Regions from separate parts of the Homo sapiens genome. Here region 1 is linked to region 2. The links are contacts of gene promoters, found by promoter capture Hi-C in blood cells and fetal thymus (Javierre and others, 2016). All regions are on one chromosome and are shown on one strand. Each heading gives the region's core, a stretch centred on a gene start or on the middle of the fragment in contact. The rest is flanking DNA. Distances are from core to core; before and after follow the strand shown. Region 1 overlaps FTX (FTX transcript, XIST regulator). Region 2 holds the start of OGT (O-linked N-acetylglucosamine (GlcNAc) transferase).

Region 1 (5,205 bases), core at 2,269-4,768, 2.7 Mb after region 2:
GGGACTAAACCCAGAAAGCAGTATCTGTAGCAAAATAGTTGACCTGATGGCTGGTTGGCTCCCAAGAATCTCTCTGTCCTGGTAGCCAGATAAAGTAATCAAAGGGTAATCCTATACTTGGTAAGCCAGTGGAGTACTTAGGAACAAGTCTCATGTTAAAGGGCTTCTTCCATGGAGTGTGGTTAATGTGCAAAAACATGTCTATAAATAAGGCTGTTAGGACAGACTCACCATAACAGGAAATACCAGAGAGATCAAGGGTATCCAGGAAAGTCCAAAGATGACAATGTAATACAAATAGAGCAATTAAGAGGTTACATTCTTGCATTGTAAGACATGGGGGTTCAAAGAGAAAGTCTAGAATTTACTGGCTAGCCATTCTTGCCAAGTTCTGAACTTTTATTGATTTGATGACCTCTTTGAAATGTAATAAAAACAATAGTAACATTAGTGTTGGTGAGATGAGTATATCAATTAGAACAACCTGTAGGTTTGGCTATCCCTAAAACAAGCCAACCTTAGAAGAAATGTCCTTTAAAAAGAAAAAAAAAAAGGCATTTCTTCCTAAGGTTGGCTCTTTAAAAAAAAAAAAAAAGAGAGAGAGCGAGATTGATTCTTGCTATGTTGCCCAGGCTGAAGTGTAATGGCTATTCACAGGCATGATCTCACTACTGATCATCATGGGAGTTTTGACCCGCTCCATTCCCGACCTGGGCTGGTTCACCCCTCCTCAGGCAACCTGGTGATCCCCCGTGCCCGGGAGGTCACCATATTGATGCCAAATTTAGTGCAGGAATCCAATCGGCATAGCTCACTACAGCTCAGAATTCCTGGGATCAAGCAATCCTCCCTCCTCACCCTCCTGAGTAGCTAGGGCTACAAGTGCATGCCTGCAAGCCCGCAAAAATAGCCTTTTTAGAAGTCATTTCTGAATGGGGTTATTGTTCCTGCCAGGTTTGAAAAACATGTGGACACAAGAGTCACATCCAGGTGTGTACTAGAGAGGCACTGCACTTAATCCTACCTACCTAAGCTATAAACTTTTCGGACTGTGTATCCTTGGCTGATCTTCCTAGGAGCACAGTCACCACTGGATATTGAAAAGGACCTAATTTTTACCTCCAACTGACACATCATTGATAAAGATAATGAGTCTTCACTATGTGCTATCGGGTTCAATGTTACTGAGAGTAGCTGCCCTCAATTACCCCATCAGAAAAAAATAAGGAATATTATTAGAATTTACTTCCTAAGTTAAAAACTGAGCTATGCATACATAGAACAGTGTGTGACACTTACCATTTAATGTATGCTCAGTTAATGTTAACTCTTGGGAGGTTTTTGTTTGCTTGTTTTTTGTTTTTTTTTTGAGACAGACTCTCTTAGTCTGTCACCCAGTCTGGAGTGCAGTGGCGCGATCTTGGCTCACTGCAACCTCCACCTCCTGGGTTCAAGCAATTCTCATGCCTCAGCTTCCAGAGTAGCTGGGATGACATGCATGCACCACTACACCCAGCTAATTCTTTTTTTTTTTTTTTAAGTAGAGACGGGGTTTCACCATGTTGGCCCAGGCTGGTCTCGAACTCTCAACCTCAGGTGATCCGCCTGCCTCAGCCTCCCAAAGTGCTGGAATTACAGGCATGAGCCACCGTGCCTGGCCTCTTAGCTATTGTTATCAAAAGACTGCTATAAAAAAAAGAATGCACTGCTTAGAATGGAAAAACAGGTAAAAGATGATTAAGAGATATTTAAATGAGGCCGGGCATAGTGGCTTATTCCTATAATCCCCCAGCACTTTGGGAGGCTGAGGCAGGCAGATCACTTGAGGTCAGGAGTTGGAGACCAGCCTGGTCAACATGGTGAAACCCCGTCCCTACTAAAAATACAAAAATTAGCCAGGAGTGGTGGTGTCCACCTGTAGTCCCAGCTACTCGGGAAGCTGGGGCAGGAGAATTGCTTGAACCCAGGAGACAGAGGCCGCAGTGAGCCAAGATCACGACACTGCACTCCAGCCTGGGTGACAGAGCGAAACCCTGTCTCAAAAATAAATAAATAAATATTTAAATGAGAAGTAACACAGTTGTTTTTGATGGAAAAGTACTGCAAAAGCAGATTACAAGCGTAGAATAACCTTACAGTCATTAAAAAAATCTAGTGAAAGAGAAACGAACACAGCCATGTCCTAGCATAGGGATGAAACTAGAAAACAAAGAATAGAAATGCAAAACACGCGCGCATGCGCGCACACACACACACACACACACACACACACACACACAAAATCAGGTCACTAACAAGTTTGGTTTGTAATAAGAGAAATTGTCAGAGAAATATGCCCACAAAAATGTATCCGTAAGTATGTTAAATATATTATGTTCAAATTTAATAAAAAACTAAGTCCTAATATTTAAAAGGAAAAAAATTTAATCAAAAAATAAAGGAAATGTTTTAAAACGATCCTGGTCCAAATGAAAGAATTCTATGCATTCACATCTAAAGAGAGGAAAATGTTCTTGTTAAGAGCCACCTAAAAATGTCATCAATATCCGTACACACTAGAAAGAAAGAAATATAGCAATAATCCAAGTTGGTTCTGCATATGCTTTAATTGTGCCATGCCTTTTTTTTTCAAATATTTGAAAATGAATACCTATGGCCTTTTATAATTTTTTTAATACAAAGTATACTGGAGGCAAAGAAAATATTCTTTGTAACCCTAAGTCATAGATACATATTTGAACTTATTATTTCCTTTAAAAAAATTGACTGAAGGCCCTCAGAGAATATGGAGGAAATACCAAGGAATAAAAGAGAAAGCATCACATGTTCAGGTAGTGGACATCAATTTACATAACACACTGACCTACATTAAAAATAATAGCTTAAAAAAAGAATGATTTTTAAATCATAAAACTATTTTAATGTAATTGTTTCACTTTAATCAAGGAGGAAAAGAATGAACAGTGATGCCAAAGATATCACATCTAGAATAGAAAATATTTGTGTTAATTTTTGGAAAACCTGTGGTAATATTGCTATGGCTGCCTCAATCCCAGTACATTGAAGTTGCATCTTACTACTTCAGAGTCAACATCAAGATTTTTATTGCAAAAGTTAAACGATTCTTGATTTTATATGTTACTATGACCAAGCTCATTAGCTTAATAAAATGTATAAGCAATTAACAAAAGCATCACATGAATGTTCCAGAGCAGCATAATCCATTAGATAGCAGAAAAACAAAATGTGGTATACAAGCAAATTGTATATCTAAACAAATACATACTAATAGATGTATATAAACAAAACATGGTACATAAACAAAATGAATGATAAACAAAATGTGGCATATACACACAATGAAATATTATTCAGCTATAAAAAAGAATAAAGTTCTGACATATGCTATAACATGGATGAACCTTGAAGGCATTGTGCTAAGTGAAATACGCCAGAAGCAAAAGGACAAATATTGTATGATTCCACTTATACAAAATATTTGGAATAGGCAAATTCAGAGACTGAAAGTAGATTAGAGGTTACCAAGGGCAAAAAGGAGAAGGAGACAAATGTACTATACTAATTCAAGATATTAACAATAGGGAAAACTGGTCGGGCTCGGTGGCTCAGGCCTGTAATCCCAGCACTTTGGGAGGCCGAGGCGGGCGGATCACGAGGTCAGGAGATCGAGACCATCCTGGCTAACACAGTGAAACCTCGTCTCTAATAAAAATACAAAAAATTAGCCGGGCACGGTGGCGGGCACCTGTAGTCCCAGCTACTCCGGAGGCTGAGGCAGGAGAATGGGGTGCACCCGGGAGGCGGAGCTTGCAGTGAGCCGAAATTGCACCACTGCACTCCAGCCTGGGCAACAGAGCGAGACTCCATCTCAAAAAAAAAAAAAAAAACAATAGGGAAAACTCGGTGTGGAGCATTTGGGAACTCTCTGTACTATGTTTGTAACTTTTCTGTAAATAAAAAACATTCTGAAACAAAACATTTATTAAAAAAAAAAAAAACAGGATGACATCCACCCTCATAAAAATTTACCCTATAAACAGATTAACACATATTTTGAATTTTCTATGTGCTAAAATATACTTACTACAAATTCAGTAAGTCAAACTGAACCAAGATTATAATATCCTTGTAAAATCCCAGGTGTGCAAGGACAATTTTGGAAAACCTGTTTTGTGCTATAGCGGTAAAATAAGGTTAAATAGCCTGGACTCGTGTGTATTTGAAGAAAATTACTTAAGCAAGTGTAAAATGGTTAACATTGCAGTATAAACTAAAATGTTTTGGAAGAGCAATTTGAGAAGAACTTTAATAAATAAGAACTATTCTTATTTTTACCAACTTTTTCAAGGATGCCATCATATAGAAATCATAGAACTACTCACAAAAAGACACAAGGATTAAGTTTTAACCGCACCATTTTTTTGTGAAAGGGACAATCTAAAGTCTTATTAATAAAGAAATGTTAAATTATGTTACATAAATTATGATATCCATGAATTTTCATTTCACACTAACAGTCAAGTATTCTGATGCATAGTCCAGAGACACATGTTAAACACTAAAATTGATGCTATTAAAAACATAAAATTGAATGACTTGTGTATGAAAAGGGGTCCTGTTTAAGCCATGCAAAGACCATGGGGCAAGGCAGACAACTCTCTATGAATATGACAGTCATGACACACCCCATAAAAATTACTTATGACTCAACCAAGAACACAAGCAGTATGAAGCAATGGGCATGCAACAAACTATAGATCATGAAATATTATCAGAACTGTTTCTGATATAGCTCTGCTACTGTTACTATGTTACATGCACTCTTATTAAAAAGCCCCCTACATTAATTCTAGTAAGTAAATTTTCTGTTACAAAAGTCCATATAGGCATTTATACCATGTGACATCTGGCAGAAATATATATAATAGTAGCAAGGAAAAACAAAAAACCTGGGTAGAATTAACACAAAATAGATTAATAAAAACATTCAAGATGGAGACTAGTAAACTGTTGAAGTAGGGAAGTCAAGAGTCATGAAAAGTCATTGACTCAAACATTATTAAAATAGAACCAAAAAATTTAGAGTATACAGAATGGCATCACATAAATGAGTCTAAATATAGATAGGCAGCAAGAGGCACAATAAATAGCAACATTTATAGTACTTCCACAATCAAAATAATT
Region 2 (5,091 bases), core at 1,048-3,547:
AGAGCGCTGATTGGTGCGTTTTACAATCCTAGCTACAGAGTGCTGATTGGTGCATTTTACAATCCTCTTGTAAGACAGAAAAGTTCTTTAAGTCCCCACCCAACCCAGGAAGTCCAGCTGGCTTCTCCTCTCACATCTATGTATTTCTTTGGCTTCATTTAACCTTTGGAGCCATTTTTTTTCAGCAGCAGTGCAACAGCAGCCACCAGCCCGGGTCTCATCCAGCGCTGGTGCTACTGCTGTGAAATGTGTGTTGTTCTGAGCAGCTGTATTTGTGATACTTTGTTACACAGCAGCAAAAAAAGTAATGCAACATCAGTGGTGTTACTGGGTGACAAAGTTTGGGATTGGGGTTGAAGACCCAGCTGATTTAATTATAATTGGTTCTAAATTTAAAATTGCACATAAAAAAAACCCAGAAATCAATGTGAACAACAATAAAAAACATACAAAAGCACTTCCTTCAATGTCTAGATCAAGGCTTCTTTCTCACCCCCTCCAACCTTACCTGTTTCCTCCCTAGATATTCATAGAGAGTAATATATTTTATCATCTAAATAGTCTTCTGTATTGCTCTCTAGTAGCTTTTTGTGTCTACCTAACTAGGCTTCAGATTCCTTGAGGGCGAGGATTTCTGTTCATTTTTGTGCCCCCCACAGTGCCTTGCACATAGAGACTCTAGTAAATGTTACTTATTGGCTGAAGAATTAGGAACATGACCTGCATTTAACAACAAAAAGAGTTTTTGTTAATTAGCTAGCACCCGCTCATCAGCAAGGCCTAAACATCTGCCAGTGGAATCTGAGAAGTCTCTTCTAAAAGTTGAAAAGCTGAGTTTACTCATTACAGATAGGGAACTTGTAGTAGGTGTGTGTGTGCGGGGGGGAGGTTTTACCAGTTAAATCAAATTACAAGAGGTTGGTGCTCAATTTTCAGGAGAGTTTGTGTAGTGATTTTTGTCTTTTTCACTGCATGATGTGACTCTTGATTATGGGATGGAAGAAATTAGCATTATGAATTTTCTCTGTGCCATTTCCATAATTAATTGTTTGTTGACTGTTTTGAAGAAATTTAAGCAGAATTTGAGGACTTAGTTTTAAAAAATGTAGTGAAGGGGCTAGGTAGCAAAAACTTTTTGAAGAAATTCATTGACCTGCTTTCTTAGATCAAGGACTTTTTGAAATAAAAAGGCTCTCAGAGATCCAACTTGTAGCCTCCAGTGGCTTGTAATACTTTCTTGCTGATGTGGCAAGCTACCTTAAGTCGTTTCTAGAACAAGAGGTGAAGTATAAATACCAATGTGACAAAATGTCTGAACAGTAGACTTGAAACTGCAGGAAGATCGTAAGAACCGATTTGTTCAAGGAAGTAGAGGCAATTCATGACTCAATCTAGACGTGTGGTTTAGGCAGATGGCAAGTGAATTCATTTATCATTGTTGATCTGCTTTGAGCTCAGTGGAATCGCCGACTGTGACAATGTGCAGAGCTAGCTGGTGGAAATGAAGTCACAACTCGAGGAGAGTCATGGATTTTGACGAACGTGAATCACCTTTAACATTTTTATGGCTGCCTTCGGAGTGCAAACGCCCAGCATGTCCCTGAGTTATTAAACATTTGCCCTATCACCGTGGGCAGGAGTATTCTGAATACCAAAACGATTTTGAAATTTCAGGCTATACGGCCAACATTGAAGGTGTCTGCATTCAACTGGCCCTGTGAAAGCTTCAGTCTTTTTCATCGAAGTGCTGAAATCGATGGCCGAGTCACAATGAAGACGGGCTCAAATCGGAACCCTCTCGCTCCTCGTTTTGAGCAGCTGTCTTTGAGAGGCAATCTTCTGAATTGACTGGCTCAGAATTGATCCGTGAGAGTCGTAACCATCCGTTTTTGTACGAATACAGTTGATAAACTTTTTTAGACGCCTTTGGCATTTATGTTTAAAACGACACCACCTGCTAAGTAACAAACACTCTTCTTAATCGCGGTGGCAAAAACGTATCCGTCCCGTGTGTGTTTGTTTTTACCCTTCCGCTACACTCTTAAGAAACTTGGCCGCTTCCGCCCCAGAGAGTGCCCTAACCACGAGTCGGGTTGACAGGGCTGCTCGCATGCGCGGTCTCCACCGTGGTGTTTGTCGCAATGGGCGCTGCGCGGAGGACTACATGGAATCTCGACTTTGCAGCTTGAAGTCATTTTGTTGGCGGCGCTGGTTACCGGCTACCTCCGCGCGGGCACTTGATTGTAACAGAAAGTAGTTCCGGCCCATGTTGTTTCGGCCGAGGAGCCGTCGCCGCCATTTCAAGACCGTACTAGGTAGATGGTCAATTAGAGTTCCCAGGGTTTGAAGCCTGTAACTGCTGCCGCCGCTCAAGCCCTCCAGAGCATTGCTACGGCTGCTGCCCTTGTACTACTACCTCCAAATACGTTCTTGCTGGTAGTGGCGGCAGCAGGACCAATTACCTCTTTTTTGCTCTCCCTCGAGAAGCTCCAGATGGCGTCTTCCGTGGGCAACGTGGCCGACAGCACAGGTACCGGTGTCCCGTTCTACCTTGGCAGATGCCCCCTTGGGGTCTCGCGCCGTCCTCTACCTTGTATCACTCCTTCCCTCCCTTCCCTCGAACCATCCCCATTACATCAGTGACATTGCTAAGCTTTTCGTGGTCTACTGGCATCTGATCACATCGGGTTTTCCGCTGTTGTCCGCTTCCCGAACATTTCCTCCTCCTCCCTTGCTTGCTTTTTGCTGCCTTTCTTGCTTTGTTTTTATTTCGTAAATGTTCTAGCATTCCACTCTCTCCAGGCGCTTTTATCACACGTGCGCGCTTAGAATGTCGTGGAATGGACTGCATTGGAATCCCTGCCCTTTCACTCCTTTGCAGCGGTTTTCTCCCCTAATTCCAGCTCATCGCCTCTCCTTTTTCCCCTCCATCTCCTCCTTCATCTCCCCCCCCAGTCTTTTCCCCTTAGCCAGATTTGGTCCTTCTCTGCCAATCTAGGGCGGGGGTGCCGTTCCGATGTAATCATATCCTCACTTTGCATCACCCGAGGACGATCAAAAGCTCGTCGATGGTGCCACAAGTCACCTCGAGAAGAGGGGACATTGAGCAGCACCCTGCTAGGCAGTGCCTTTCTGGTGTTCTTTCGGTTGAGCGGTCCCGGTTTAGATTGGAAATTTCCAGGGGTTTCCTTTGCCATCGCCCAATTCCACCGCTGCCCTCAGCCTGGATTTCCCACCCTGTCCGCGGGGAACCACACCCTTCCCTTCGCGAGGTTGCCAGCCCTGTTCACTTCCTATCCTTGGGGGAGAAACCACCCCGATGCTGCTGCTTTGGCGTTGACCACCCTGCCCGCCCAATTCTCGCTTTGTGTTACTTTCTCGATGTATTCCTCCGCCGCCGCCTCTGGGTCTGCCATCCCCATTCTTCAGCCCAGTATCTCTTTATTCACAGGGTGTAATATTCTTTTAAGTTTCCATCCCTGCTTGAAGAGTTTGTAAAGCAACTGGAGTGTAGCTGCACAAGTACAAGGCGGTTGCCCTTTTAGACACTTCAGTCGCGAGCATTTGGTACTGAAAATACGAAAACAACCAAATTGTAGGAGTGTCCTTCAGCTGCCTTTCCATATTGAGGCGATTTGGGCGGAAGGGGGTGGGGAATTGGGCTGCGCTTCTGAGGTTTCCCGCGAGGTTATTTTTTGGTTGTTTCTCAGTTGAGATGTGTGGAGGGTTTTAGCTACTGTTCCTGGAAGTTGTGCTGTAAGTAGTAGGTGAATCGTCAATAGTGTCTTATCCGTAATTGTAGGGAGTGGGATTAATAATTAGTCCGTGCTCCTCTCCCCACGTCTCCACCGTGATTTTCAAAGGTTTAAGATTCTGTACTGGATTCTGTACTAGCTTGCCCTTTTTAATGTGTTATTTATTTGAGAAAGCTGTCGTTTCAAGTGTTAAAATAGCAGATAAGCGGCATTGAAAAGTGACAAAGTAATGTGTGAAAACAAGGAGCTAGGAAGTTCTAGAGACTTAGCTAAAATGTAATTTTAGTTTCTATTAAAGATATAACCTCTCCCAGATGTGGATGCAAGTCTCAATGCTCTTTGTGTTGGTGGTCAGCTGTGCATTCTGTCAGGAAATTTACTTTGCTTTCCTCAGTATCCGGAACGCTCATCAGCTCTGATGATTGGGGAGCTGGGCTCAAATTTGAACTAGTCACCTTAACCTTGGTAGAATTAAATAATTTGTCCATGGTTTCCCATTTCAACCAGCTAGTGAAGTGCTACGGTCGAATTCCCAGTTTAAGTATTTACAGTTGTGACAAGCAGTTTTTTTTTTTTTTTTTTCCCTCTCTGGGCTTTAGCTATATCCTTTAAAGATCTTTATGTATCTGGATTAAGTCACTTGCAGCGAAGTGCTTTTATTTATTCATTATGTTGCGCTTTATCAAATATATTTTAGCGTCCATCCTCCCTCCCTCCCAACGTTTTGACCATTGCAGTTGCAGGTAACTGCCTGGCTTATATAGGCTTGTTTGCAATGTCTTAATCCTTTAGTCAATACCAGAGCTGTTTGGAAAATGTTAGTGCTAAACCAACGTGGGTGGGATTTAGCCAATTTAGTCTCCTTTTGAGTTTGGGATGGTAGAGGAGCAGTGTAATCTTGGGTCTTTATTTAAAATGTTTGATGACCCCTTTAACTATTTTGGCTGTTGTCAAATGACAAACATCTTGTTTATCAGCTGTTTTAAAAATAGCACTTTGACTTTTTGGTTTTTCCCTTAGGCTCGTTTCTACTTGTCCTTTTAAAGAATTAAATTCTGAAATATACAAAAATTGATATAATTTAAAGAATTAACACATCTGGTGTCCTCACTGAGGTTAAGATTGATAGATTGTTACCAGTACTCCACCTCAACAAATCCAACCTGAAATATGGCACAAAATATTACGTTTCCCAATATGTTATTCTGATATTATTAAGTCTTTGTGACCTTGCAAATCACACGTTTAATATTTTGTTTCTGTATGTTAACTAAGGTATAAGGAATAATGTTCAGTGAATCCTTAGATGCTACCTATGATTTATAATTTAAAAGTA

Evidence for each region. The method cuts DNA at HindIII sites, captures the fragments that hold promoters and counts their contacts. A CHiCAGO score of 5 or more calls a contact.
Region 1: a contact is called between a fragment that was not itself captured here and the fragment with the promoter of OGT in region 2, in 1 of 17 cell types (neutrophils). The highest score is 6.6, in neutrophils.

Annotation. Positions count from the first base shown.
Region 1 is chrX:74,242,004-74,247,208 of GRCh38, forward strand. All of the region lies in intron 5 of FTX (FTX transcript, XIST regulator), which reads right to left. It also overlaps the pseudogene RN7SL648P. Among named protein-coding and RNA genes, the nearest start is that of MIR374B, 26 kb to the left of the region's middle. The HindIII fragment of the contact is 8,000 bases long and covers 1-5,205 here.
Region 2 is chrX:71,530,807-71,535,897 of GRCh38, forward strand. OGT (O-linked N-acetylglucosamine (GlcNAc) transferase) reads left to right here and starts at 2,298. Exons shown (of 22, transcript NM_181672.3): 1 at 2,298-2,530. The coding sequence starts at 2,494. RefSeq lists enhancers at 1,349-2,548, 2,049-2,388, 2,214-2,872. The HindIII fragment of the contact is 929 bases long and covers 1,723-2,651 here.